5 separate regions of the Homo sapiens genome follow, and all the other regions are linked to region 5. The links are contacts of gene promoters, found by promoter capture Hi-C in blood cells and fetal thymus (Javierre and others, 2016). All regions are on one chromosome and are shown on one strand. The core of a region is centred on a gene start or on the middle of the fragment in contact, and the rest is flanking DNA. Distances in the headings are between cores, read along the strand shown. Region 1 overlaps HERC1 (HECT and RLD domain containing E3 ubiquitin protein ligase family member 1). Region 2 overlaps HERC1 (HECT and RLD domain containing E3 ubiquitin protein ligase family member 1). Region 3 overlaps HERC1 (HECT and RLD domain containing E3 ubiquitin protein ligase family member 1). Region 4 overlaps HERC1 (HECT and RLD domain containing E3 ubiquitin protein ligase family member 1). Region 5 holds the start of DAPK2 (death associated protein kinase 2).

Region 1 (5,183 bases), core at 1,975-4,474, 320 kb before region 5:
CCTAATAAATATTATTTTAGCTTGGAACTAGAGTAGACTCATTCAACAACTCTCTGTTGAACACCTACCTGGTAGCTGATGTAGTATCAGTGTTTATTCACTTTCAGAAAGTACCACCAACAAACACTTTATAGGAAAGCATATGTATTCTCCGTACCAACAAATTCAAAGGATTAAAACTGTTTTCCTTAAAATTCATTATGAATTTCTCATTCATTAATTTATCTTCATTTTATAATTTACTCAAGAAATATTTATTTACTCAAGAAATATTTATTGACATACCAGGCACAGTTCTAGGTGAAAGGGATACAGCCTTGAAGAAAGTGGTTAAAACTTCCTGTCCCCCTGGTGCTTACCTGCTAGTGAGGGAATGCTTTCATATTTTTTAAACAAAATTTGCTTTTTTAAAAATCAAGATCACCTTAAATCATGTGTTTTTATAATCCATATTGGTTTTAAATCAATTTTATTTCACTATTTCATTGTATATCAGGGCAGAGAAGGTCATTCAGAAATGAGCTCAGTTTGAAAATATTTTAGTTGCTGTGGAACAGCCAAATGGAGGTATCTAATGAGGAAAGGTTTCAGTTTCACAGTGTTCCCTTCTTTCTTTTTTCAGTGGGGGAACTTCAGGGGCAGCTGGTTTTAGATAAACAATAAATTTTGGTTGTCTTTTGGATAACCAAGAAAAGACACCCAGTAGGCAATTAAAGAAAGGCTCTAGGACTCAGGAAAGGTGTTCTCAGCTAGATGGAAATATAGGAGTCATTAATATGTAAATGGTTGTTAAAGACACTGAGACTAGATAAGACCATTGGGGGAGCAAAGAGGATAGAAGGCAAAATTCGGAGGATCCTCAACATTAGAGGGCATGTCCAAGGAAGAGGAGCCTATAGGAACCCACTGAAAAAGAAGAGTCAGAGGAAGAGGAGAGAAAAAAGGACTGTGACTACACAGAAGCCCAAAGAAAGAATTTCAAGAAGGAAAGTGAAAAAATGGTAAATGCTGAAGAGAAAGGTAAAGAAAGAGCAGGTTTTAAAAAAAAAAAAAAAGAGCAGATTAAAAAATCTCACTTTCTGCCATTTAAAATTAATATTTTTGAGTTTATATCATCCAGTGCCTTTAAATTAGGCCTCTGTCATGCCAAGTAGACTCTTTCTAAGACCAATCACTGCTAACACTACCCCCAAACCAAGACTAAAGGAATCTTCAATAGAAGGAAATTCAAGACCATTCCTATTCCAGAGGCTTCTGGCTCTCTTAAGACTTTGGAAAGCCAAGTGTTCTTACTTCTTAATGACTGATTAAATTTGAAATGAAATACCAAACTCACCTCTTAATTTTTCTCCAACACTGCCATTCCAAGGACTTTCTTTGAGCAAATTTGCAGAACGTGAATAAATATCTGTGGCATGAGGCAACAAAAGCTGAAGATGTTTATGAAGCAATGCCACACTGCTTGAGTTCTAAGAAGAAAAAAAGTTCCTAAATTACTACTTTGAAAGATTCAAGGTGTAAAAATATCATGGCCTATCCAAATATCTGAGTTTCAAGGTCCCTGATAGATCACCATAAAAGACAAATAATCGCATACCTCACTAATGTTATTGATATGGCAAAATGCCAGCAGCTGTTTCTGTAGTGAACATAGCAGTTCATGAAGATGAGCAGGCTGACTGTTTTCTGATGATGATGTTCCAAGTAGAAATTTATCACTATTCTTTTCTAGCTCTCCAAATGCTTGATCCTAAAATGACACACAAAGGAAGTTTATATTTGAAGTGCTTGAAACTGAAAGTAACAACCTACCATAAATCTGATTTAAGCAGCATTATATGGGCTGGGTGCGGTGACTCACACCTGTAATCCCAGCACTTTGGGAGTCCGAGGCAGGTACATCACCTGAAGTCAGGAGGTTGAGACCAGCCTGGCCAACATGGTGAAACCCTGGTCTCTACTAAAAAATACAAAAATTAGCTAGGCGTGGTGGTGGGTGCCTGTAATCCCAGCTACCGGGGAGGCTGAGGCAGGAGAATTGCTTGAACCCCAGGAGGCAGAGGTTGCAGTGAGCCAAGATCACGCCATTGCACTCCAGCCTGGGCGACAAGAGTGAAACTATGTCTCAAAAAAAAAAAAAAAAAAAAAGCATTATATCCTTTCTCCCATTACCAATTTTTAAGTATTTGCTATAACCCTTATGATACTAGCTATTAGATGGTAAAATTCATCAAGCTACTTCTATTTGTTTTTTCCATTAAAAAAAAAAAAGCAGCTGGGTGCGGTAGCTCACACCTATAGTCCCAACACTTTGGGAGGCCGAGGTGGAAAGACTGCCTGAGGTCAGGAGTTCAAGACCAGCATGGGCAACACAGCAAGACTTCACCTCTAAAAAAATTTTTTTTTTTAATTAGCTGAGCATGGTGGTGCACACCTCTAGTCCCAGCTACTTGGGAGGCTGAGGTGGGAGGACCACTTGAGCCCAGGAGTTCGAAGCTGTAGTGAGCTATGATGGTGCCACTGCACTCCAGCCTGGGCAACAGAAAGCCTGTCTCTAATAAAATTAAAATTAAAATTAAAAAAGAGATATGACAACTAAATACAATGTGTGATTCTGGACAAGATCATGAAGAGGAAGGGCTGGGGTCAGAAACTGCTATAAAGGACATTATAGGGGCAACTGTAGAAATGTAAATGTAGACTATATATTAAATAACAGTTCTGTATCAATGTTAAATTTTGTGAATTCAATAATTATTCTCTTGTTACATAAGAAAATGTCCTGGTTTTTTAAAAATACATACTTAATATATGCTTAAATACTTAGCGGCAGCCAGCCATCTGCAATTTACTCTCAAATGATTTAGAGAGAGAGAACAAATTTGGCTGAAGAGCACAGGGGAATTCTTTGAATGATTCCTATAACTCCTCTGTGAGTTTTAAATTACTTCAAGTTAAAAATATTTTTTAAAAAGAGATGCTTTGTATATTTAGAAAATATCAAAACTCTATTTTAAAAAGTTAAAAGCACCATTTAAACAACTACTCAAAGAAAGTGACTGCTACTATAATATTTTTTGGTGTATTTCTTTCCTTTGTCCTTTTAAAATATTTTTCATAATATTGTACTGCATATTCTATTTTTGGTCTGCTCTTTTCCAATGGAATCATAAATGTTTTACACATTTTCATAAACCATGTGTATATAAAATATGATAAAATATTCCATTGAACACATGTACCATAAATTACTTAACCACTCCTCTATTTTTAGATGTTTCTGTTATTTCCAACTTTTTTTCCTGTAAATAATCATGTGCTGAATATCTTTAGGCAGAAAATTTGGTTTATGTGTACAATATACAAGACAATATGAGAACACTGTAGGGCCCTTGCTCTAAGTTGTTAATTAGGACCATTATTTTAAAATCTTAGAACAAATTTGGTTTAAATCACATCAGAAAGAGACAATAATTTATTATTTCTACCCAAAAGCAGTTAGTATTTTATTTCCATTTCCATATAATATATAAATCTGCCTTAGCCCTAATATTCCTTTCAACTTTGTTGTAACATTCCTTATAACTTTGGGAAAAATTTTTGGTCATTAACAAATGGCTATATACACAATATTGTTCTTATCCATTTGCAGCCATTACTCCTTAACATCAGATTAAATTTACATTTTTAAATCTGAAAGAAAAGAATTTTGTAGGAAGAATGTTCACTCTGACTTAGTGATCAGCCTTTCAATGTGGGCGGGATAGAGCACTAAGACTTGTATTGGAAGAAAAAGAGTACGTAGACCAGACCCTGAAGAGCCACAGGAAACAATATTAATTGATACACAAACAATTCAAAGTTAAGTTACACAGTACACTCTGATCCTGTAAGTGCTGATGAGTACAGAGATGTGTAGCTATATGCATCTCTGGCTAGATGGGGTTATTTGGGCAAGGTTTCCTAGAATAGTCAAGTCTTACATCACAGATTGGTAGAGAAAAACAACAGGAAATACGTGTACAATGTACAATTCTGGAAAAGGATGATTTCAGATAAGAATGGTGTGTGAGCCGATGATAAAGGGTCTGAAGGGTGGTGGTGGTGGTGGTGTTGTTTTGAGATGGGGTCTCGCTCTGTCACCCAGGCTGGAGTGCAGTGGTGCGACCTCAGCTCACTTCAGCCTCTGCTCCCTGGTTCAAGCAACTCTCCCACCTCGGCCTCCTGAGTAGCTGGGACTATAGATGCCAGCCGCCACGCCTGGCTAATTTTTGCATTTTTAGTAGAGACGGGGTTTCACCATATCGGCCAGGCTGGTCTCAAACTCCTGACCTCAGGTGATCCACCCAACTCGGCCTCCCAAAGTGCTGAGATTACAGGCATAAGACACCGCGCCTGGCCTGAAGGGGTTTTAATTTAATACAAAGAAGTTGTATTCTTTAATATAAAGAAGTTATTTAATACAAAGTTATTCCAGCAGTAAGATGCTGAGAAGAAACCAGCAATAGTGACAATAGCTATAACATTATTAGCACTGAATCATAATGATCTGGCTTAGAACTCAAAGAAATGGCAGGAAAAAAAGATGAATTTAAGAAACACTAGAGATTTAGAATTAATGGCATACTAATACAGGGAAAGCTATAGGGTCCACTGTCCTCTATCCTACTGACCAACCTATTCTCATTCAGTTCCAAGTACATTGTTTCATTATAAGATTATAACTGGCAAGGTTAATCCCTTGCTCATTATTCTTCTCTCTAAAAATGTTCCTATTTTATTCTGTTTATTATTCTACAATATCAGAAAAATCTGGTAAAATTCTAAAATAAATCCCTTTGAAATTCTCAATTACATGTTATTTTGTCCCCACAATATTTCAGAAACCCTGACATGTTTTTCCCCTTGGGGGAGAGGGGTCTAGAGTTTGATTTCTATCATAGGTGTTTAAATGTCAAAATACCTTGACTAAAGAGATCCCTACCCCTTTATTCTTTTTTTACTACAATGAAAGAACAACTTACTGTATAAAATCCTAAATTTCTTAAGAGGGTCTTCATCAAAATTTCAGCCAGGTGGGTATCTGGATGGCAGCTCTGAGTGCCGTAAGGTTGATCTGACAGATTTCCGTAGCCAGTACACACAGAAGATAGGTCAGCAGCATCAGAGGGTGAACTATAGCC
Region 2 (4,888 bases), core at 289-2,788, 260 kb before region 5:
AAAGTTGAAGCCAATGCTCTTTTACATTCTGAAAAACCTAGGGCACCTAAGAATTATTATAAACCTACTCTCCCTGTGCTCTACTAATCCAACAACGAAGCCTGGATGACAGCACATCTGTTTACTACACAGTTTACTAAATATTTTAAGCCCACTGTTAAGACCTACAGCTCAGAAAAAAGCTTCCTTTCAAAACATTACTGTTCACTGACAACGCACCTAGTCACTCAAGAGCTCTACTGGAGATGTACAAGGAGATTCATGTTGTGTTCATGCCTACTAAACACAACATCCATTCTGCAGCACATGGATAAAGAAGTCATTTCTACTTTCAAGTCTTAGTATTTAAGAAATACATTTTGTAAGGCTATAGCTGCCACAGATAGTGATTCCTCTGAGATCTGGGTAAAGTCAATAGAAAATGTTCTGGAAAGGATTCACCATTGTAGATGCCATTAAGAGCATCCATGGTTCATGGGGAAAAGGCCAAAGTATCAATATTAACAAGAGTTTGGAAGAAGTTGATTCTAACCCCTACGGATGACTTTGAGAGGTTCAAGACTTCAGTGGAGGAAGTAACTGCAGACGTGGTGGAAATAGCAAGAGAAGTAGAATTAGAAGTGGAGCCCGAAGATGTGACTGAATGCAGCAATCTCATGATAAAATTTTAACGGATGAGGAGTTGCTTCTTATGGATGAGCAAAGAAAGTAGTTTATTGAAATGAAAGATATTCCTGGTGAAGATGCTGTGAATATTACTGAAATGACAACAAAGGATTAGAATATTACATAAATTTAATTGATAATGCAGTAGCAGAGTTAGAGAGGACTGACTCCTTTTGAATTTTGAAAGAAGTTCTACTGTGGGTAAAATGCTATCAAACAACATTGCATGCTACAGAGAAATCATTCATGAAAGGAGGAGCCAATCAATGCAGCAAACTTCACTGTTGTCTTGTTTTAATAAATTGCCAAAGTAATCCCAACCTTTCAGCAACCCCCATCCCGATCAGTCAGCAGCCATTAACATCAAGGCAAGACCCTCCATGAGCAAAAAGATTACAACTCTTTGAAGGATCAGAGGACTCTCAGCATTTTTTAGCAAAAAAAAAAGTATTTTTTAATTAAGGTACATACATTGCTTTTCTAGACATAATGCTATTATACACTTAACAGACTACAGTATACGGTACACATAACCTTTATATACACTGAGAAACCAAAAAAACTGTGTGACTTGCTTTACTATGACATTGGCTTTATTGTGATTTATTTGCTTTACTGTACTTTTCGCTTTATTGCAGTGGTCTGGAACCAAACCACAGTATCTCTAAGGTATATGCCAGTACTTGACAAATAAGGCAAAGTACAACAGTATATAAACCACCAGTCCTTAAATCTATTGGTAGACCATGAATTCCTTTGAGAATCTGATAAAAGCAGTAGACCGTGACTCCCCAAAGAATAAAACTCATGATCGGGCCGGGTGCAGTGGCTCACACCTGTAATCCCAACACTTTGGGAGGCTGAAGCGGGCAGATCTCGAGGTCAGGAGATCAAGACCATCCTGGCCAACATGGTGAAACCCCGTCTCTAATAAAAATACAAAAATTAGCTGGGCATGGTAGTGGGCGCCTGTAATCCCAGCTACTCGGGAGGCTGAGCCAGGAGAATGGCTTGAACCCGGGAGGCAGAGGTTACAGTGAGCCAAGATTATGCCACTGCACTCCAGCCTGGTGACACAGGAAGACTCTATCTCAAAAAAAAAAAAAAAGAATAAAACTCATGCTCATACTCATAAAAATGAGCAAATTTCCAAAGGTTTCATGGATGTCCTGAAGTCATCTATGTAATCCAAGATGATAAATCTAATCTAAAATATTATCCATATCCTAAAATATGTTCTTTTTAAGTACCAGTGGAAAATATTTTCAAATTGACTATTATCTAACAAATAATTCAAAAATATACACATAATTATAGACCACAGTTCTAGCCAGAAAGTAGTGAAACCAAAAAGAATTCACAAAACAACTAAAATGGAGCAATCTCCAAGATACACTGTTAAAAAAGAAAAATATGTAAAGTATTTGTGTATACTGTAATAGTTCATATACAGTAACATAACTATATTAAAAAGGGTTTAATAATAAATGCTGAAAACATTTTTTTAAAACCTAGGAACACTAGTTGCCTCTGGGAGAAGGAGAATTGGGTTACTGGGAGCTGGGGTAGGAAAGATATTTGCTCTTCACTGCATAAATTTGAATTTCTTATATATGCATGTATTATCATGCAAATTTTTTTTTTTTTCCTTTTTGAGACAGAGTCTCACTCTGTCACCCAGGCTGGAGTGCAGTGGCGCAATCTCGGCTCACTGCAACCTCCGCCTCCCAGGTTCAAGCGACTCTCCTGCCTCAGCCTCCCAAGTAACTGGGACTATAGGTGGCTGCCACCGCATCCAGCTAATTTTTTTTGTATTTTCAGTACAGTTGGGGTTTCACTGTGTTGGCCAGGATGGGCTCGCTTTCCTGACCTCAGGTGATCAGCCCACCTCGGCCTCCCAAAGTGCTGGGATTACAGGCGTGAGCCTCTGCCCCTGGCCTATCAGTGCAAATTTTCAAAAAGCATTTTTAAAGAAATCCAAAACAAGGCAAAACCTAAATTTTTGGAAACTAAGTTTCTCAGACAAAGAGAGGAAGGGGAAAGGAGTTACAAATTATCTAGAAAGTTATATAAAAGAAACATATATCAAAATCAAGGGAATGTAGTCAAAGTTGACTCAAATAAATATATAAAGACTCAAATGCTCCATTTCTAAGTAAGAATTAACTGAAAGCCAGGTGTGGTGGCTCACTCCTATAATCCCAACATTTTAAGAGGCCAAGGTGGGAGGAAGCTTTAGGCCAGGAGTTCAAGACCAGCCTGAGCAACATAGCAAGACATTACCTTGACAAAATGTTTAAAAATTATCTGGGCATGGTGGTACACGACTGTGGTCCCAGCAACTTAGGCTTGGGTGGGAGGATCGCTTGAGCTCAGAAGTTCAAAGCTGTGAGCTATAAGTGCACCACTGCACTCCAGCCTGGGCAATAAGGTGAGACAAAGTCTCTTAAAAAAATTAAATATATTAATAATTCAATTCAAAATTAGAAAAACAAAATAAACTTTAAGAATATTAGGCTGGGCACGCTGGCTAACACCTGTAATCCCAAGGCTTTGGGAGGCCAAGGTGGGCGGATCACTTGAGCTCAGGAGTTCAAGACCAGCCTGCACAACATGGAGAAACCCCATCTCTACAAAAAATACAAAAAATTAGCCAGGAATGGTGGCGCATGATGTGGTCCCAGCTACTCAGCAGGATGAGGTGGGATGATCCCTTGCGCTCAGGAGGTCAAGGCTGCAGTGAGTCAAGATCATGCTACTACACTGCAGCCTGGTCAACAGAGACCCTGTCTCTAAATAAAGAAGGAAAGAAGGAAGGAAAAGGGGAAGGGGAAGGGAAGGGAAATTGGTAAATGAGAAAAATTCAAAAACAACAGGATTGATATCTCAGAGAGATTATTCTTCTTTTTCTTTTTTAGAGACAGAGGTCTCACCGTGTTGTCCAGGCTGGTCTCAAACTCCTGGACTCAGGCAATCTTCCCACTTGGGCCTCCCAAAGTGCTGGGATTACAGGTGTGAGCCACCATGCCCAACCCAAGAGATAATTCTTTAGTGGAAAAAAATGAAAACAATCAGCTAACAAAATTAAGAAAAAAAAGACAAAACATAAGGTACTCAATATTATAAATAAGAATGGAAAGACAAGCTAGATGCACTGCAGTGTGCCTGTAGTCCCAGCTACTTAGCAGGTTAAAGTGGGAGGACTGCTGGAGGCCAGGAGTTCGAGGCTGTAGTATGCTATGATTGTGCCTGAGAATAGCCACTACACGCCAGGCTAGACAACACAGCAAGATCATGTTTCTATTAAAAAAAAAAAAAAAAAAGAAGAAGAAGAAGAATCGAAAGACAGCTGTGAAGAGCAGTTTGCTGGTGGTATCTCAAAAAGTTAAAAACAGAGTTTCCTTATGGCCCAACAATTCGACTCCTAGATCTATACCCAAGTGAACTGAAAACACATGTTCATATGAAAACTTGTACACAAACATTCACTGGAGCATTACTCGTAATAGCCAAAAAGTGGAAACAACACAAATGACCATCAAGATATGAATGAATAAACAAAATGTCATATTATCTACACAGTGGAATATTATTCAGCCATAAATAGGAATGAAATACTGATACATGCTATAATTTGAGCCTTGTAAACATTCTGCCAATTGAAAGATGCCAGATATAAAAGGCTATATAATGTATGATTCTATTTATAAGAAATGTACAGTACAGGATGGCCAAATGCTTAGAGATAGAAAGTAGATTAGTAGTTGCCAGAGGCTGGAGAGGAAGGGAAAATGGAGAAACTGGTAAGATTTTACTTTGGAATTATGAAAATGTTTTGGAACTAGAGACGGTAGTTGCACAATACTGTGAAAGTACTAAATGCCACTAAATCGCTCACTTTAAGATGGTTAATTGTACGTGATGTGAACTTCAACTCAATAAATTATTATTTTTTTTTTTTTTATTTTTTGAGACGGAGTTTCACTCTTGTTGCCCAGTCGGTAGTGCAATGGCATGGTCTCACCATGCCCAGCTAATTTTTGCATTTTTAGTAGAGATGGAGTTTCACCATGTTGGCCAGGCTGGTCTTGAAGTCCTGACCTCAAGTGATCTGCCTGCCTCAGCCTCACAAAGTGCTGGGATTACAGGCATGAGCCACCATCCCCAGTCTCAATAAATTATTATTATCATATTATTATTTTTGAGATGGAGTCTCACTCCG
Region 3 (5,001 bases), core at 1,792-4,291, 280 kb before region 5:
AGATAGAACCTAATGGAAGAATACATGTATACAGACATAACACCTGAGACTGATCAAGCCTCTGGATCCAGCTGCCAATTTATAGGAAATACAGAGGATAAAGAAACATAAGGAACTGCATCATGAGTAATCTATCAGTAAAACCCAGACTGTGGGAAATGCTACAGCCTAGAAAGCCTAGATTCCTGAACAAACATATTGAAGGAAAAGAAAAATGGAGGAGGGAACCTAGAGATTAAAATATTTAAAAGACTTTCCTTTTTTTTTTTTTAATGGGCAAGACTATAGTGTCTAAGGATGCACATCTGGTTGACAGAACTATAAAGAAATGCAAGGAAGTGGTCAAAGTCACAATAGTGGTTACTTTGGGGAGGAGAAAAGAGGTTATGACAAGGCTGTGAAAGGGCTTCTGCAATGACTAAGAAAATTCTTTACCTAGGTACATATTAGAAGGGTATTTATTTTATAATAATTCATTAAGCAATATATGTGTATGCTTTTCTATGTGTTTTACTTAATACAACATTTTTTCAATTAAAGTTACCAGCACATAATTCAAAAATCAAAATAAATGAAAGGGTATACATTGAAAAGAATGTCTCCTACTCACCCCACCCCCACCCTAGATACCCAGTTCCTCTCTCTAGAGGTAACAACTGGTGCCACTTCCTTTTGTAGCTTTTCCAGAGAAAATGGATTATTTTTAAGGGATAAATACATGCCATAGCATTTTAACACAAAGTTGTTAATACAAAAGCCACGATTATTACGTACCTCTTCAAAGAGACATAATGCTGCCTCGTAAAGGGAGCACAAGCCATCCGATGTTCTGGTTGGTTCTCTCCACTGACTCCGATCAGCAGATGAACCCTATAATTAAAACATTGCGGGACACAGCGTAGGAAGGGGAGAGACATATGCATTAAAATTAGTTAAACAGTCTACAAAAACAACACCTATTTGAAGACCTGTTTATATAATTATGTGCACTGAAACCAAATCCTAACATTAGGTCATGAAACTAACTTTTGCAAGGAAGTTTTATTAAACGAGCTGGCTACTGCATCACATGATAAATTAAGTGCCAATCCCTCACTGATTACCTGATTAAAAAGTGATTTATTCCAAGGGACACAGGGCTCTCGAAACAATCAAGGAAGTGGAATTCTGCCAGTTACACACTCTTTGGGTGACCAGTATCCAGAAAATGTGGTCTCAGGAAATACTCCCCATGGGTATATTGCCCACCTGCCTTCCACCTGACAGAATACAGCCAGCTTTAGTAATGACGTGACCAAAGCAGCAGAAAGTCTGTCCCTCCCTTCTTAGTTTCACCACAACCAAGGTCCCAGTGTTACAGTGTTACAACCCCCACCACCAGGTATGTCAGGTGACCATCAAGTGATGGTCAGGCAGTGGTTAACTGTCTCTCTAAAACAATAATTGACTGCAGCCAGCACCAGGGAAAGGCAGTCTCCCAACAGACAGAAAAAAACCCTGAAACTTGTGATCAGCAACTTGCTAATAAGATCTCAGGAGCTGGGTGAGTGGGATCAAGCATGCACATTAAGAGGCAAAATGGAGGAGTTTAACTGGTATATGACCTTCTAGGGTCTTGCTCTGTTGCCAAGGCTGGAATTCAGTGGCAAAGATTATTGCTGTGAAAAGGAAATAAAACCTTGAGACTCCAATTCACCCTGACAAAAGAAAAAAATTAAGCTGACGGCTGACTTATGCAAGAAGCTGCCTTTCCTTTTGTTCCGAAGCAGATAGCTACAGATGAAAGGGTGAATATCCTCATAGGTAACTACTCTCTGTTCACCTTATCTTATATAAAATGCCTATCTACTGAGCGCCAGAGAAATACATAATTCCACTATTCTGCTCCTTTTCTCTTGCAATTTGTGGATTCAGTAATGCGACCATACCCTCCTTTGTTCTCCTCCAGCCTGCTTACCCCCTTTAAATAGTGAAGCCCTCAATATCACCTTTGGAAAAAGGCACAGATCTGTGTAAACCAAAAATAAAATTCAAAGGCCCCCAGCAACCATCTGAATGGACTCCCTCCTATGGGAGGGCACTCTAAAATTTAACCTGAAGAACTGATTCAGGCCAGGACGGGAAGTGGGAGATCGGACATGCCTCATTATATCCATCCAGCGTTAACATCAATACTGATCTTAAGTCTAAAAAGAAACATTTACAGTCTATTCTCTCTAAGCCTGCTACTTGGAGGCTTCATCTGCATGATAAAACCTACCTCTCCCACAACTCCTTATTGTAACCCACACATTCCACTAACTCTTTCAACGAACGGCCAATCAGAATATGTTTAAATCTACCTATGACCTGGAAGCCCCCCACCTCGAGTTATCCCATCCTTTCAGATCAAACCAATAAGATCTTACATGTACTGATTGATATATTATGTCGCCCTAAAATGTATAAAAGCAAGCTGTACCCCAACTGCCTTGGGCACCTGCCACCAGGACTTCCTGAGGCTGTCACAGGCATGTCCTTAACCTTGGCAAAATAAACTTTATTTTATTTTTTTGAGACTGTTTCGCTCTTGTCACCCAGGCTGGAGTGCAATGGCTTTCTAAACTGATAGAGAAAGATCAATTTCTTGTCTCAGACACTTCTTGGTTTACACTCATCTCCCAGGCATTGTCCTTAACCTTGACAAAATAAACCTAAATTGATTTGCGACCTGTCTCAGATAGTTTTTGGTTTACATAACTCACTATAGCCTCAACCTCCTGGGCTCAAGTGATCCTCCCACCTCAGGATCTACTAATAAAGCTTATTATTAAGGCTTATTAACTATTAGTAAATATTAAAATGTATTTATACTATTAATATAATCATAGAGGTCAAACATTAACTTCATCAATATTAATCCGATTAATTTGATTAATACTAATTTATTTATGTTATATTATATATTAGTAATTAATTAAAATTAATATCATTAAAAGCATATTAGCCAGGCACAGTGGCTCACACCTGTAATCCCAGCATTTTGGGAGGCTGAGGTGGGCAGATCACTTGAGGTCAGGAGTTCAAGACCAGCCTGGCCAACATGGTAAAACCTTGTCTCTACTAAAAATACAAAACTTCTCAAGGTATGGTGGCATGTGCCTGTAATCCTAGATACTTGAGAGGCTGAGGCAGGAAAATCGCTTGAACCCAGGAGGCGGAGGTTGCAGATCGCACCACTGCACTCCAGCCTAGGTGACAGAATGAGACTCCGTCTCAAAATAAAAAACAGCACATTAATAAAGCTTATCAACTATTAATGAAGCTTACTTAGAATTTTTTAAGTTTCGTAATACATTAAAGGTTAGGGGTTTTTTTGTTTTGTTTTGTTTTTGAGACAGAGCTTCACTCTTGTTGCCCAGGCTGGAGTGCAATGGCACGATCTCGGCTCACTATAACCTCTACCTCCCAGTTTCAAGTAATTATCCTGCCTCAGTCTCCCGAGTAGCTGGGATTACAGGCATGAGCCACCATGCCCAGCTAATTTTGTATTTTTAGCAGAGAAGAGGTTTCTCCATGTTGGTTCAGGCTGGTCTGAAACTCCCAACCCCAGGTGATCTGCCCACCTGGGCCTCCCAAAGTGCTGGGATTACAGGCGTGAGCCACCATGCCCAGCCTACACTAAAGTTTTATAGGTTTTTCATTTGTTTTTTTTTTTTGAAATGGAGTCTTGCTCTGTTGCCCAGGCTGGAGTGCAGTAGCGCAGTCTCGGCTCACTGCAACCTCCACCTTCCGGGTTTAAGCAATTCCCCTGCCTCAGCCTCCCAAGTAGCTGGATTACAAGTGCACGCCACCATGCTTAGCTAATTTTTTTGTATTTTTAGTAGAGACAGGGTTTCACCATGTTGGCCACACTGCTCTCGAACTACTGACCTCAGGCAATCCACCCGTCTCGGCCTCCCAAAGTGCTGGGATTACAGGCGTGAGCCACCGCGCCTGGCCTATAGGTTTTAAGTTGCTCTATATATTCATCTGTCCTCTTTCTATTCCATCAGGTAAATAAAACAATGGTGAACTTTTCATCAATCTGTATCTACTGGGCAGATAAACAATAAATAATACTTTTAAATAAAAACAGCAAATATCCCCAGCACTTTGGGAGGCCAAGGCGGGTGGATCATCTGAGGTCAGGAGTTAGAGACCAGCCTGACCATGCTGAAACCCCATCTCTACTAAAAATACAAAATTTTAGCCGGGCGTGGTGGCGGGCACCTGTAGTCCCAGCCACTGGGGAGGCTGGGGCAGGAGAATCACTTGAACCCAGGAGGCGGAGGCTGCAGTCAGCCGAGATCGCCCCACCGCACTCCAGCCTGGGAAACAAGAGCGAGGCTCCGTCTCAAAAACAAAACAAAACAGCAAATATCTTGCTACCCTCAAATCAATGAAATGTCAATCACTTTGGAGAGTTCTCCGAAGAGCTGAGTATTACATGGCAGAACTTTTTTGTCATCTAACAAGTTCTCCCTCTGCCTTCAAAAGCTGCTATGATGAAGTCCATGTGAATGACTTTCACACCACTCTCCTCACCCCAGCAAAGCTGCAGAGAAGTTTAATCTTCAGTCTCTTCATATAGCTTCCTTTTCTCCAAGATCTTTATAAATTTACTATGTAAAGCTTCCTGTTGTCATAGTCTCCGTTATCGCCCCACCCCATTAATAATCATTATTCTTAATTATTCTCTTCAGCTGTTCCAAATCCCTCACTTCTCAGATAGCTTTCAATAACTATGATAGCTAATCAGAGCCTTCCAATCATAGCACATTGCTCATCGTCTTCAGATCTCTGATTCTATTCGACTGTTTCTCTTATTGCTGGGTCATCTGCTATTAACCTGCTGCTGCCAAGTCAGTTTTTCTTTTTAATTATTTAGGATGTTGCTTCTCAAATTTCAATGTTGACACGAATTACCTGGTGATCTTGTTAAAATACAGATCCTAATCAGTAAGTAGAGAAGAAGCCTAA
Region 4 (5,385 bases), core at 2,635-5,134, 300 kb before region 5:
GCAGTGGCACAATCTGGGCTCACTGAAACCTCCACCTCCCAGGTTCAAGCGATTCTCCTGCCTTAGCCTCCCGAGTAGCTGGGACTACAGGCATGTGCCACCACATCCAGCTAATTTTTTTTGTATTTTTAGTAGAGAAGGGGTTTCACCATGTTGGCTAGGAATGTCTCTATCTCTTGACCTTGTGATCCACCCACCTTGGCCTCCAAAAGTGCTGGGATTACAGGCGTGAGCCACCATGCCCAGCTCACTAAGTCTTTCTTCTGCCATCAATTCTGGTATTAAAGGATTCTGAGGCATTCTTCAAAATGTCAATTGCATTTATCAGCTCCAGAATTTCTACTTGATTCTTTCAAATTATTTTAATCTCTGTTAAATTTATGTGATAGGATTCTGAATTCCTTCTCTGTGCTATCTTGAATTTCTTTGACTTTCCTCAACAAAGCTATTTTGAATTCTCTGTGTGAAAGGTCACAAATCTGTTTCCCCAGGATTGGTCCTTGGTGCCTTCTTTGGTTCATTTGGTTAGGTCATGGATGGTGTGGATGCCAGTAGATATTGAAGAGTTAGGTATTTATTGTAGTCTTCACTGTCTGGGCTTATCTGTACCCATCCTTCTTGGGCTTTCCAGATATTTTAAAGGACTTGGGTATTATGATCTAAACTGTATCTACGTTGTGGTTCTTGCAGCCTCATAGAGGTACCACCTTGATGGTCTTGGACAAGATCTGGGAGAATTCTCTGGATTATCAGGCAGAGACTCTTGTTCTCTTCCCTTACTTTCTCCCAAACAGACTGTGTGTGTGTGTGTGTGTGTGTGTGTGTGTGTGTGTGTGTGTGTGTGTGTGTGTCTCTCTCTCTCTCTCTCTCTCTCTCTCTCTCTGTCTCTCCTCAGCCACCTAAAGCTGGGGGTGGAGTGACACAAGCACCCCTGTGGCCAACACCACTATGACTGCACTGGGTCAGACCTAAAGCTAGCACAGCACCAGCACAGCACTGGGTCTCACCCAAGCTTGCCGTAACCACTCCCTGGCTATTGCCTATGTTCGCTCAAGACTCTGTGGTTCCACAATCAGCCAGTGGCAAAGCCAGCCAGGCCGTGTCCTTCCCTTCAGGGGGAGTGAGGTCCCCCAAGCCTCAGGTGGGTCTAGAGGTGCCATCTGGGAGTCAGGGACTAGAGTCAAAAACCTTAGAGGTCTACCCAATGTTCTATTGTACTATGGCTGAGCTGGCACTCAAACCACAAGACACAGTCTTTTTCACTTGTGCCTCCCCTTTCCAAAGCTAGAGGAGCCTCGCCCCATAGCTACCACCACCCCAGGCCACAAGGAGTATTGCCAGACAAGCACCACTGTTCCCTTAAGCTTAAGGCCCAGGGATTCTTAAGTTAGCTTATGGTGAATACTGCCTGGCCTAGGTCTCACCCTTCAGGGCAGTGGGTTCTCCTGTAGCCCAGGACAGGTCTAGAAATGCCATCTAACAATCAAGTCCTGGAATCAGGGATCCCAAGAGTGTATTTGGTACTCTGTCCCTCCATGGCTGTGCTGGTACCTGAAGCCAGAAAGTCTCAGAGGCTCACCCAAAGCCCTTGACATAGCAGCTGGGTATCAATGCTGGTTATTCACAGCCCATGGGCTCTTCGGTTAGCAGGTGATGAATGCTGCCAGTACTGAGTCCTTTTCTTCAAGGCAGTGGGTTCCCTTCTGGCCTGGGGCATGTCTAGAAATGTCATCTGAGAGCTGGCATCTGGAACAGGGAGACTTGCGACTCTGACTGGTCCCCTATCCTGCTGTGACCAAGATGTTATCTAAGACACAAGACAAAGTCCTGCCCACTCTTCCCTCTCAAGTGGAAGAAAGGGGTCTCTCTTGGAGCCACGAGCTGTGTAGCCTGGCATTGGGGTCGGGGAGGCGGGGGGTGAGCCAACACTCCCTTGGTTACCCCAGCTGGTGTCTCAGTATGTCACCTGCCCCTCTGTCCACTGTCTCTGGGACCAGTTCAGCACTAGGACTCGCCTAAGAGTTGCAGTCCTTTTGGCCTAGACTGCCTTTCAAGTTTACTTGGAGACACAGAGCACTATAGCCCTCAGTGGCAAGCCTTGCAGGAATTCAAATTTGGATCACTGGGATCAGCAGTTCCCCTCTGGCTAGGGTTGGTTTAAATGCTCCCTCTGTGCACAGGTGTCAGCTGAGTTTGGTCCAGTTCTCCTTTCTGCTCTAACAGGATAGCATTGAGTTCAATGCCTCACAATTGTTGTGTTCTCCCTCCCCAAGCACCCAGAGACACTCTCTGCACCATACTGCCACTGCTGCAGGGGGAGGAGTGGCACTGCCTATTCAGGACTGTTTTTTCTATCTCTTCAGTGCCTCTTTCAGTGATATGAAGTTAAAACTAGGTACTGTAAGTGCTCACCTGATTTTTGGTTCTTATGAAGGTGGTTTTTTCTGTGTAGAGTTGTTAAAGTGGTGTCCTTGGCAGGGGGAATGATCAGTGGAGCCTTCTATTCCACCATCTTGCTCTGCCTCTCAATTTCCCTTTTGATTTCTGTAGGGTCAGTAGTAATATCTTGTCTTTCATTCCTGATTTGAGTAATTTAAGTCCTCTCTCATTTTTCTTGGTCAGTCCAGCCAGAGGTTTGTTGATTTTGTCTTTTCAAAGAACAAACATTTAGTTTCCTGGATCTCCTCAATTGTTTTTCTGTTCTTTATTTTTTTAATTTCACTCTAATCTACATTAGTTCCTTTTTTCTACTTGCTTTGGGTTGAGTTGACTCTTCTTTTTCTAATTTCTTAAGGTAGAAGGTTAAATTACTGATTCGATATATATTTTTTTTAATATAGATGTTTATAAGCTATAAATTTTCCTCCAAGCACAGCTTTAGCTGCATTTCATGAGTTTTGGTATGTTAAGTTTTTGTTTTCATTAATCTTAAGTATTAAATTTATCTTGTAATTTCTTTCTTTGATCCACTGATAATTTAGGAGTGCACTGGTTTAAAAATTACTGTACTTTCTATTATTACCTACCAAAAGAGTTTATTTTCTGTATTTTGTATTACAAATATATAGATATTTTTAAGTTTCCCCCAAATTTAACATTGTATTATAATACTAAATATGTTTTTTTAAACTATACTCTCCTTATTTATAACCAGTATTCTATTCTAGGCCACTTCTTCCTCCTTAAGCTGACCTTTCTCTCCTTAGCTCTGGTTACAGTTCTAGTAGATGATCCAGTCCACTTATTCAGTTACTACTACTGACCAAGCCATGCCCTAGGTCCTTGCCCTCAGGAACTCATCTTCTGGTGAAAAAAGAGTGACATGTTTGTAAATAAGCAACTAGAATACAATGTGATGTAATGAGAACATATACAAGAAAAACCAAATCTGGTGGGAGAGCAGGAATAAAAAGTTTATCAGAGATGGCATCTGACCTTTGTCTCAAGGATGAGTTAACCAAAAATACTCTCACCAAGAAAACAGGAGTAAGGGAAACAACATCCAATTGAAATTGTCCAATGTACAGTTGAATATATTGTATAGCTAAAATCTCAGAGAAAGACGTGGTTTGAGATACAGATTCACAAGTCCTATTCTCTTACCTCTTGGATTTCATCTGGGACAGTTGAGTCCATCAGTCTGAAGAGCAAATTTCGAAGTGGACCTGCCTGCCTCCCGAGAATGCTGGTAGCTACCCCTCCCGCAAGTGCAAGAGCAAGGTGATTTGAAAGTAGCTTCAGGCACAGCTTGAGAAAACTGTGGTGTTCTCTGAAACCAAATAAACGTCTATGAATTCTCGGATCATAAAAGTGCCTGTGCTATCCAGTTTGGGTAACATTTTTATATCTTTAAAAATTTTGTTGGCTAGGTGCGGTGGCTCATGCCTGTAATCCCAGCACTTTGGGAGGCGGAGGTGGGTGGATCACCTGAAGTCAGGAGTTAGAGACTAGCCTGGCCAACATGGCAAAACCCCGCCTCTACTAAAAATACAAAAATTAGCTGGGCATGATGGCGGGTGCCTGTAATCCCAGCTACTCAGAAGGCTGAGGCAAGAGAATCACTTGAACCTGGGAGGCAGAGGCTGCAGTGAACTGAGATCATGCCACTGCACTCTAGCCTGGGCGACAGAGCAAGACACCATCTTAAAAAAAAAAAAATTTTGTCAAGTCATGAACAACAGTAATTTTTAAAACATGATTTGTGAAATTACAAGTAACTTTTTCCTAGAAGTTATTATCAACAAGTATCTAAGTTTAGCTCTTTTCTAGATTATAAAAAAGTTTCATATAATTTGGGAAACCAAACAAGAAAGAACAGTAAGTCAAAACTCAAAAGGAATAATTTATACACATGCACACACGCGCGCGCACACACACACACAAAGATACAAAACATACATATAACATACCTTGATGAAGGGAAAGGGAGTGGGGGAATCTCACTGTTTATTTTATCACAGTATCTCTCAAGAAAAGAACGCAGGTGTGAGAAGGTACTCTCTTCAAGATCTACACAATAAGGTCGGTGCCATGCAACAACTTGTCTAGAAGGACACATAAGAAAATAATAAAACAGTCTTAAAATGAAATTTTTATGCACGATCAAAAACGAAAATTAAAACATATATTGGCTGGGCACGGTGGCTCATGCCTGTAATCCTAGCACTTTGGGAGGCCAAGGAATGCAGATTACCTGAGGTGAGGAGTTCAAGACCAGCCTGGCCAACATGGTGAAAACCCATCTCTACTAAAAACATAAAAATTAGTCGGGCATGGTGGTATATGCCTGTAGTCCCAGTTACCCAGGAGGCTAAGGCAGGGGAATCGCTTGAACCTGGGAAGCAGACACTGCAGTGAGCAGAGACTGTATCACTGCACTCCAGCCTGGGCGACAGAGTGAGACTCCATCTCAAAAAATATATATATACATATATACATTAAAGCTGAATGAGTTCAACAAGATACAAAGAAGACATTACTGATTATGAAAGTGATAAAACCTTTCATTTTAGCAACTAAGGAAAACCAAGAATTTGCCATCTTTAAGAAGAAAACATACAACCACCACCTGTTTTGGAAGGTTTGGATGTCCACTCACCTGAAAGCAGAGGGCTGAGTCACATGATCTACTAAAGCCCCTCTGGTTCTAAGAGTCCAGAAAATATATATTTCATATTAAGAAAAATATCCTGACTCTATAGAGTGATATACTGAAATCTATTAAAAGACAAAATCCTGAAATTTCTTGTTAATACTTTTCAGTTCTTGGGACCCAACTATCTACATATGAAGTGGGAAGTTGGAGATGTAATGCTAATAGCAAATTATTTATATTCAACTTATTTATTTTGGCTTTTGTGTTAGAGGAATAACTATTGATAAATA
Region 5 (4,971 bases), core at 60-2,559:
AGGAACTTACCCCAGAGGAGCAGACCTCCAGCCACATCCACACACCCCTGACCCCTCTGCCCAAGTCTCCTCTGAAGGTGCTGAATCATCAGTGGTGCCACTTGAGGGTGCTCAAAAAACATCTTGGGAGATGAGCGGTTTGGGGAAGGACAGGGCTGTGAAGTTAGCTGTGAAGAGGCCAAGGCACCACGGCCTCTTAGGTCAACAGGACTCTCCCAGGAATATCTTCCACAGAGGCAGTTGGGAGTCGCAGTGTCAGAAACCAGAGTGGCTGCCCTCCACAGGATTCCAGGATACAAGATGTCAGGCGCTGTCCCTGCACCTGCCCGCTTGCCCCCGAGGCAGCCAGCTATGGTGCCCTCTCCTCCAGTGTGCACCACTGCCTTACCATTACCTGCACGGCCTCAACGAGGCTCACCTCTCTGGACCTTGTTTTCTCTTTTGTAAAGTAAGAATACCAATTTCCACCGTGCAGAGTTACGGTGAGGGTTAGCCAGACCTATGCAAGCCTTGGGACCTCCAAAATGCCTAGCCCAGAGTCCTAGTCAACTGTTGGCAACGCCCTTCCAAGCCGTTCCACCCCAACCTGCAGCACACCTGCTGGCCGCCCCCACGCCCATCCTAGCTCTACCCCAGGCCGGGGCGCCTGACGGCGGGGACCCCAGCTTCATTCAGCCCCAGAGGAAGCTCAGACATCTGAGCACCCTCCTCGCATCACATCCTTGTGCCAGGCGGGAGCAAGAGGTGAGAGAGTCAGCCCAAGCTGAGAAGACTTGGCCGGGAGCCGGGCGTGCTCTGCCCGTTCCAGGGGGCCTAACTCGATGGACGTCTGTCTCCCATCTCCCTGCTGGGTGCTTGGCTCTGCCCGCCGCCTCTACCCTGTCTCCCAGGTCAAAGTGCCAGGCTCCGGAGGGCGCCCCAGGGCAGCGGCGGGCAGCTCCCGCGCTCGGGTGCCGGCCACAATGCCCCGGGCCACGGCGTCAGGCATTGGGGCGGCGGGCCCGGGATCTGCGAGCGAGTGCCCCGGATCTCTTCGCCCCGCCAGCCCCAGACCCGGGCGCTGCTGCCGTCAGGCCGCGCGCCCCGTCCCGCCCATCGAGCCCGCAGACGGGTGCTACTCACGGCGGGAGGCTGAGCTGCCGCGGTCGCGGCCGCGGCAGGCGCGGCGGGAGCGGCGGGCGCGGCGGGCGCGGCGGGCGCGGCGGGCGCGGCGGGAACGGGGGACGCGGCGGGGTGCGCTGGGCTCGGCCCTGCAGTCCTCTCCTCCCAGAGCGCCCGGCACCCGCCCGCCGAGCAGCCTAGGAGCCGAGGGGGCGGAGCGGCCAGCCCCGTCCCAGGCGCCGGCTGGAGGCGCGCCCGGCTGCCCGGGACGGGGCTCGGGGCGCCCCCTGCTGGAGCCCCCTCCGGACAGTCCCGGGGCGAGAGCCCAGCTTCCCGGCCGGGTAGGGGACACCTCAGGGCTCCCAGACTCCCGGGAGAGCGGGGAGAGTCGGTAGCAAGACCCTCTGCGCGTCCCTACCGGCTCTACCGCGCACATGCTGCGTGGCCTTGGGCAAGTCGGCTACCCTCCCCCGGCCTTATCTGGAAATCGATTTGAATGAGCTTATACGTATGACATGGTCTGGCACAATCCTCAGAAAATGGTACTTGTGTGCTCCTCTCCCCACCATACACACCGTGAGCGAGGAAGCCCCACTGAGGAATAGGCCGTCTCCTCCCTCCCAGCCAGAGCGCTCCCTACACCGCAGACTCTCCTGGAAACCTCAAGCCCACAGCGTACAGCAAGGTGGGGGCTGCGATGAGAAGGGCCGCTCTGCTCCTCACTGCCCCCGACCCAGCCTGAGAGCGGCCTGCCCTCGTTTGCCCTTTGTCCTGGCACGGTTGCTGAGTGAAGCCCCCCTCTCACCATCACGCCTTCTCTAATAGAGGACTTGGGAATGGGTTCCTCTCTCTGCCCTCTGCCAAAAAATCCCTGAGGAAAAAAGGAATGAGAGTGAGGGGGTGAAGGGAGGAAGGAAGGGAAAACAGAACTTAAGCCAAGTTCATTTGTCTTATTTCAAAACAAGAGGCTGTTTAGAGGAAGCAAATGAGGACCCCTCCAACCCCTGGAATTTCCATCCCTAAGTCACCCATGGGGCTCCTCAAAAGGGCCTTAGATTCAGAGTCCTACCACCAGGTTCAAAGCCCTGCCCTGCCACTCCGCATGTGTGTTCTTGGGCATGGCTCTTTCTTCATCAGTAAAGTGGGAGAAACGCACCTTCCGGTAGCTCCTAATGAAGCTATGGTGGGGCTGAGATGAGATGGAGTGTGTAAGATGCACCTAGAGGACCTCTACCAGTGTGAGCACACACACACCCTTCAGCCTTTTGGACATTGGGACAAATACAGATGGACCCCACCCCCCAGCTGAGCAGTGCCTCCGGGTCCAGGACATCCTCGGCAAAGAGTTCCTTGTTTATAAACTTCACAATAATTCAGAACAGTGCAGCCAGCGAGCCTCCTCTCCTAAGAGCAGCATGATATATAGAGTAATATCCAAGACTAGAGGTGGTTTCTGATGTCAACGGACCTAAGGGAATGACACCCACTGGTGAAGTTTCACCAACATGAGAAGTCCCCCACCAAACTATCCCTAAACACCTCTTCCTCCATTTCCATTTACCTATCACTGGTGACAAACCATTACCAGCCTTGGTGGCACAGGACAACAGTTTCACTATGTTCATGCATTCTGAGGGACAGAAGTTCAGACAGCACAGTGTGTATGGCTTATTTCTGCTCTGCAGTGTCTGGGATTTCAACTGGGAACACCTGAATAGCTGGGGGCTGAAATCATCTGGAGATTTCTCCATTCTCATACCCAGTACCTGGGCTGTGATGAATCCAAGGCTGGGCTCAGCTGACCCTGCTGATCACCTACATGTGGCCTCTCCATCTCTTTCCCTTGAGCCTCATGCTTAATACCTCATTGTCAGCAGCAGCAGCCCCTTACATGAGTCAAAAGAGACATTCTTGGGTTTAGCAATTGACAAGTTAGTCAGAGTCCATTGCAGCTGGAAGGGTCATTGTCAATTGACCCTGGCCACTTTTCAGATGAGGAAACTGAGGCTCGGAGAAGGGAGGTGACTTGCCCAACATCACATAGCTGGTGAGAGACAGAGCTAGGATTAGAACCAGGCCTCCTCCAGATTCAGTCTGGTGCCCCTTCCACTGTACCTGCCAGAATGCAACTATCTAGGAAGCTACCATCTGGAGATGCATCTTATGCTTAAGGTTGGGTGAGTTCATCAGACCCTCACCTGAGGGCAGCGACAGGGCACTGAACACAGGACCAAGGTGGCCATCAGCAGAAAAGGGGAGGCCCCGAGGACAGTGGCAATGAAGACACAAATTCCAGAATGAAGCCAGAGGCAGTCCAGGTATTAAGAGCTAAGAATTATCCAACTCAGTTCCAGTCCCTGCATGGTTCCCATGGCTGACCAAATCGAGTGTTAATGCCTCACCCTAGCATTTAAGGCCCCAACCCTTATTTTCCTGCTGTGTATGCACATTCCCTTCCCTCCTCTGCATGCACATCCAGCTCTTTTGCCAGGTTGGATTATTGGCTGTTCCTGCCTCCATGCTTTTGTTCGTTTCCACTACCCTTCATCCCATTCTACAAAATCTTATCTATCCTCTAAGAGCCTTCTAAAGTATCATGTCTTCCACAGAAACTTCCCTGGTCTGCCCTCTAAATACCTCTCTCCTTTGAACCTCACCACTCTTGGTTGGTACATCTCTTGTCATCTTCCTTCCTCTATTTTAATTAGTGTCTACTTCTCCTTTTCTCAAGGGCAAGTACAATTTCTTGTCCATCTTTGAACCCATACAGTGCTTGATATCCCAAACCCAGTAAAGGTTTCTTAAACTGAATTAAGGAAGGTAAATATCACAAGGGGCCATAGCTGTCTTGTTTTCTATTGTCCCCTAAGAGCACCCAAGCACCTGGCACTTAGTAGATGCTCAATAATCTTACTTCAAGTGCTTCACTTCTAGGGGGATGTCATTATCCTCTTTTACAGATGATGTAACTGAGGCTTGAGAAATTTGATTTGCTCAAACTCATCCAATTTGTAAGTGGCTGAGCTGTGACATGAATCTTGCCTACTGGTCTCTGAAGCTATTCCCTCTGCTGCCTTCCCTCAACTGAAACTTCCAAGATTTCTAAAACAGTGTTAATCTGGAACTTTTCAGTCCAGGCAGTACATCAGAATAACTGAGAATAACATGGGGTGCTTAAAATCCCCCATGCTTAGACTGCACCCTACATCAATTACATCAGAACCTCTGAGGATGAGTTCTGGGTATCAGTTTTTGTTAAACTCCCCAGGTGATTCCCAGTGCACAGGTTGAGACCCAGTCTGTTCATGTCACAGAGACCTAGGGAAATTCTCAACCCCCTCAATGACAAACACATCTGAGTACCTGCTTTGTAAAAGACATTCCAAGGGACTGTGAGATGGTAGAGTCACAGGACCTGTGCTTCCCAGGGATGAGAATACAAGCCCATAGATAAAGATGTAACCATGGCAGGCAGCAAAGGGCACTAGTCATGGTGATATCCTAAAGCATACTTTGGTGCCTGGCAAGTTTACAGAGCCTAAAAACCTCCTGACAAGGGGGCAAGGTGGGGATTAAGATGCTGCATGTTGGCCATGGCAGATGGCACCTGGGTTGGCTTACAGCATGTGTAGTGTGACGGCTAAATGCAGAGACTCTGATGCCAGACTGCCTGGGCCCACACTCAGGCATCCCAGCATGCAACTTACGTGCCATGTGGTCTGGGGCAGGCTATTTGATCTCTCTGTGCCTCATTATCCCCATAGGTCAAATGGAGCTTATAGTAGCATTTATCTCTTGGGTTGTTGTGAGCATGCAGTTACTTTTCAATTCGATCAGTGTCTGGCACTTGGTAAAGTCCGCAATGATTAT

Evidence for each region. The method cuts DNA at HindIII sites, captures the fragments that hold promoters and counts their contacts. A CHiCAGO score of 5 or more calls a contact.
Region 1: a fragment that was not itself captured here is called in contact with the fragment with the promoter of DAPK2 in region 5 in 9 of 17 cell types (megakaryocytes, M0 macrophages, erythroblasts and 6 more); the score reaches 7.0 in megakaryocytes.
Region 2: a contact is called between a fragment that was not itself captured here and the fragment with the promoter of DAPK2 in region 5, in 13 of 17 cell types (activated CD4 T cells, M1 macrophages, endothelial precursors and 10 more). The highest score is 9.0, in activated CD4 T cells.
Region 3: a fragment that was not itself captured here is called in contact with the fragment with the promoter of DAPK2 in region 5 in 14 of 17 cell types (total CD8 T cells, M1 macrophages, M0 macrophages and 11 more); the score reaches 9.5 in total CD8 T cells.
Region 4: a fragment that was not itself captured here is called in contact with the fragment with the promoter of DAPK2 in region 5 in 16 of 17 cell types (total CD8 T cells, megakaryocytes, M1 macrophages and 13 more); the score reaches 15.2 in total CD8 T cells.

What each region holds. Positions count from the first base shown.
Region 1 is chr15:63,727,900-63,733,082 of GRCh38, forward strand. HERC1 (HECT and RLD domain containing E3 ubiquitin protein ligase family member 1) reads right to left here. Exons shown (of 78, transcript NM_003922.4): 14 at 5,025-5,183; 15 at 1,598-1,750; 16 at 1,337-1,469. Among named protein-coding and RNA genes, the nearest start is that of HERC1, 100 kb to the right of the region's middle. The HindIII fragment of the contact is 7,228 bases long and covers 1-5,183 here.
Region 2 is chr15:63,782,306-63,787,193 of GRCh38, forward strand. The region is part of intron 1 of HERC1 (HECT and RLD domain containing E3 ubiquitin protein ligase family member 1); the gene reads right to left. Among named protein-coding and RNA genes, the nearest start is that of HERC1, 49 kb to the right of the region's middle. The HindIII fragment of the contact is 2,717 bases long and covers 181-2,897 here.
Region 3 is chr15:63,763,322-63,768,322 of GRCh38, forward strand. HERC1 (HECT and RLD domain containing E3 ubiquitin protein ligase family member 1) reads right to left here. Exons shown (of 78, transcript NM_003922.4): 3 at 775-870. Among named protein-coding and RNA genes, the nearest start is that of HERC1, 68 kb to the right of the region's middle. RefSeq lists enhancers at 1,811-2,568, 3,384-3,884. The HindIII fragment of the contact is 482 bases long and covers 2,801-3,282 here.
Region 4 is chr15:63,743,315-63,748,699 of GRCh38, forward strand. It overlaps HERC1 (HECT and RLD domain containing E3 ubiquitin protein ligase family member 1), which reads right to left. Exons shown (of 78, transcript NM_003922.4): 11 at 4,410-4,544; 12 at 3,604-3,769. Among named protein-coding and RNA genes, the nearest start is that of HERC1, 88 kb to the right of the region's middle. The HindIII fragment of the contact is 5,044 bases long and covers 1,363-5,385 here.
Region 5 is chr15:64,045,176-64,050,146 of GRCh38, forward strand. It overlaps DAPK2 (death associated protein kinase 2), which reads right to left and starts at 1,310. Exons shown (of 12, transcript NM_014326.5): 1 at 1,123-1,310. RefSeq lists silencers at 944-1,163, 1,194-1,253, 1,274-1,483. The HindIII fragment of the contact is 10,777 bases long and covers 1-4,971 here.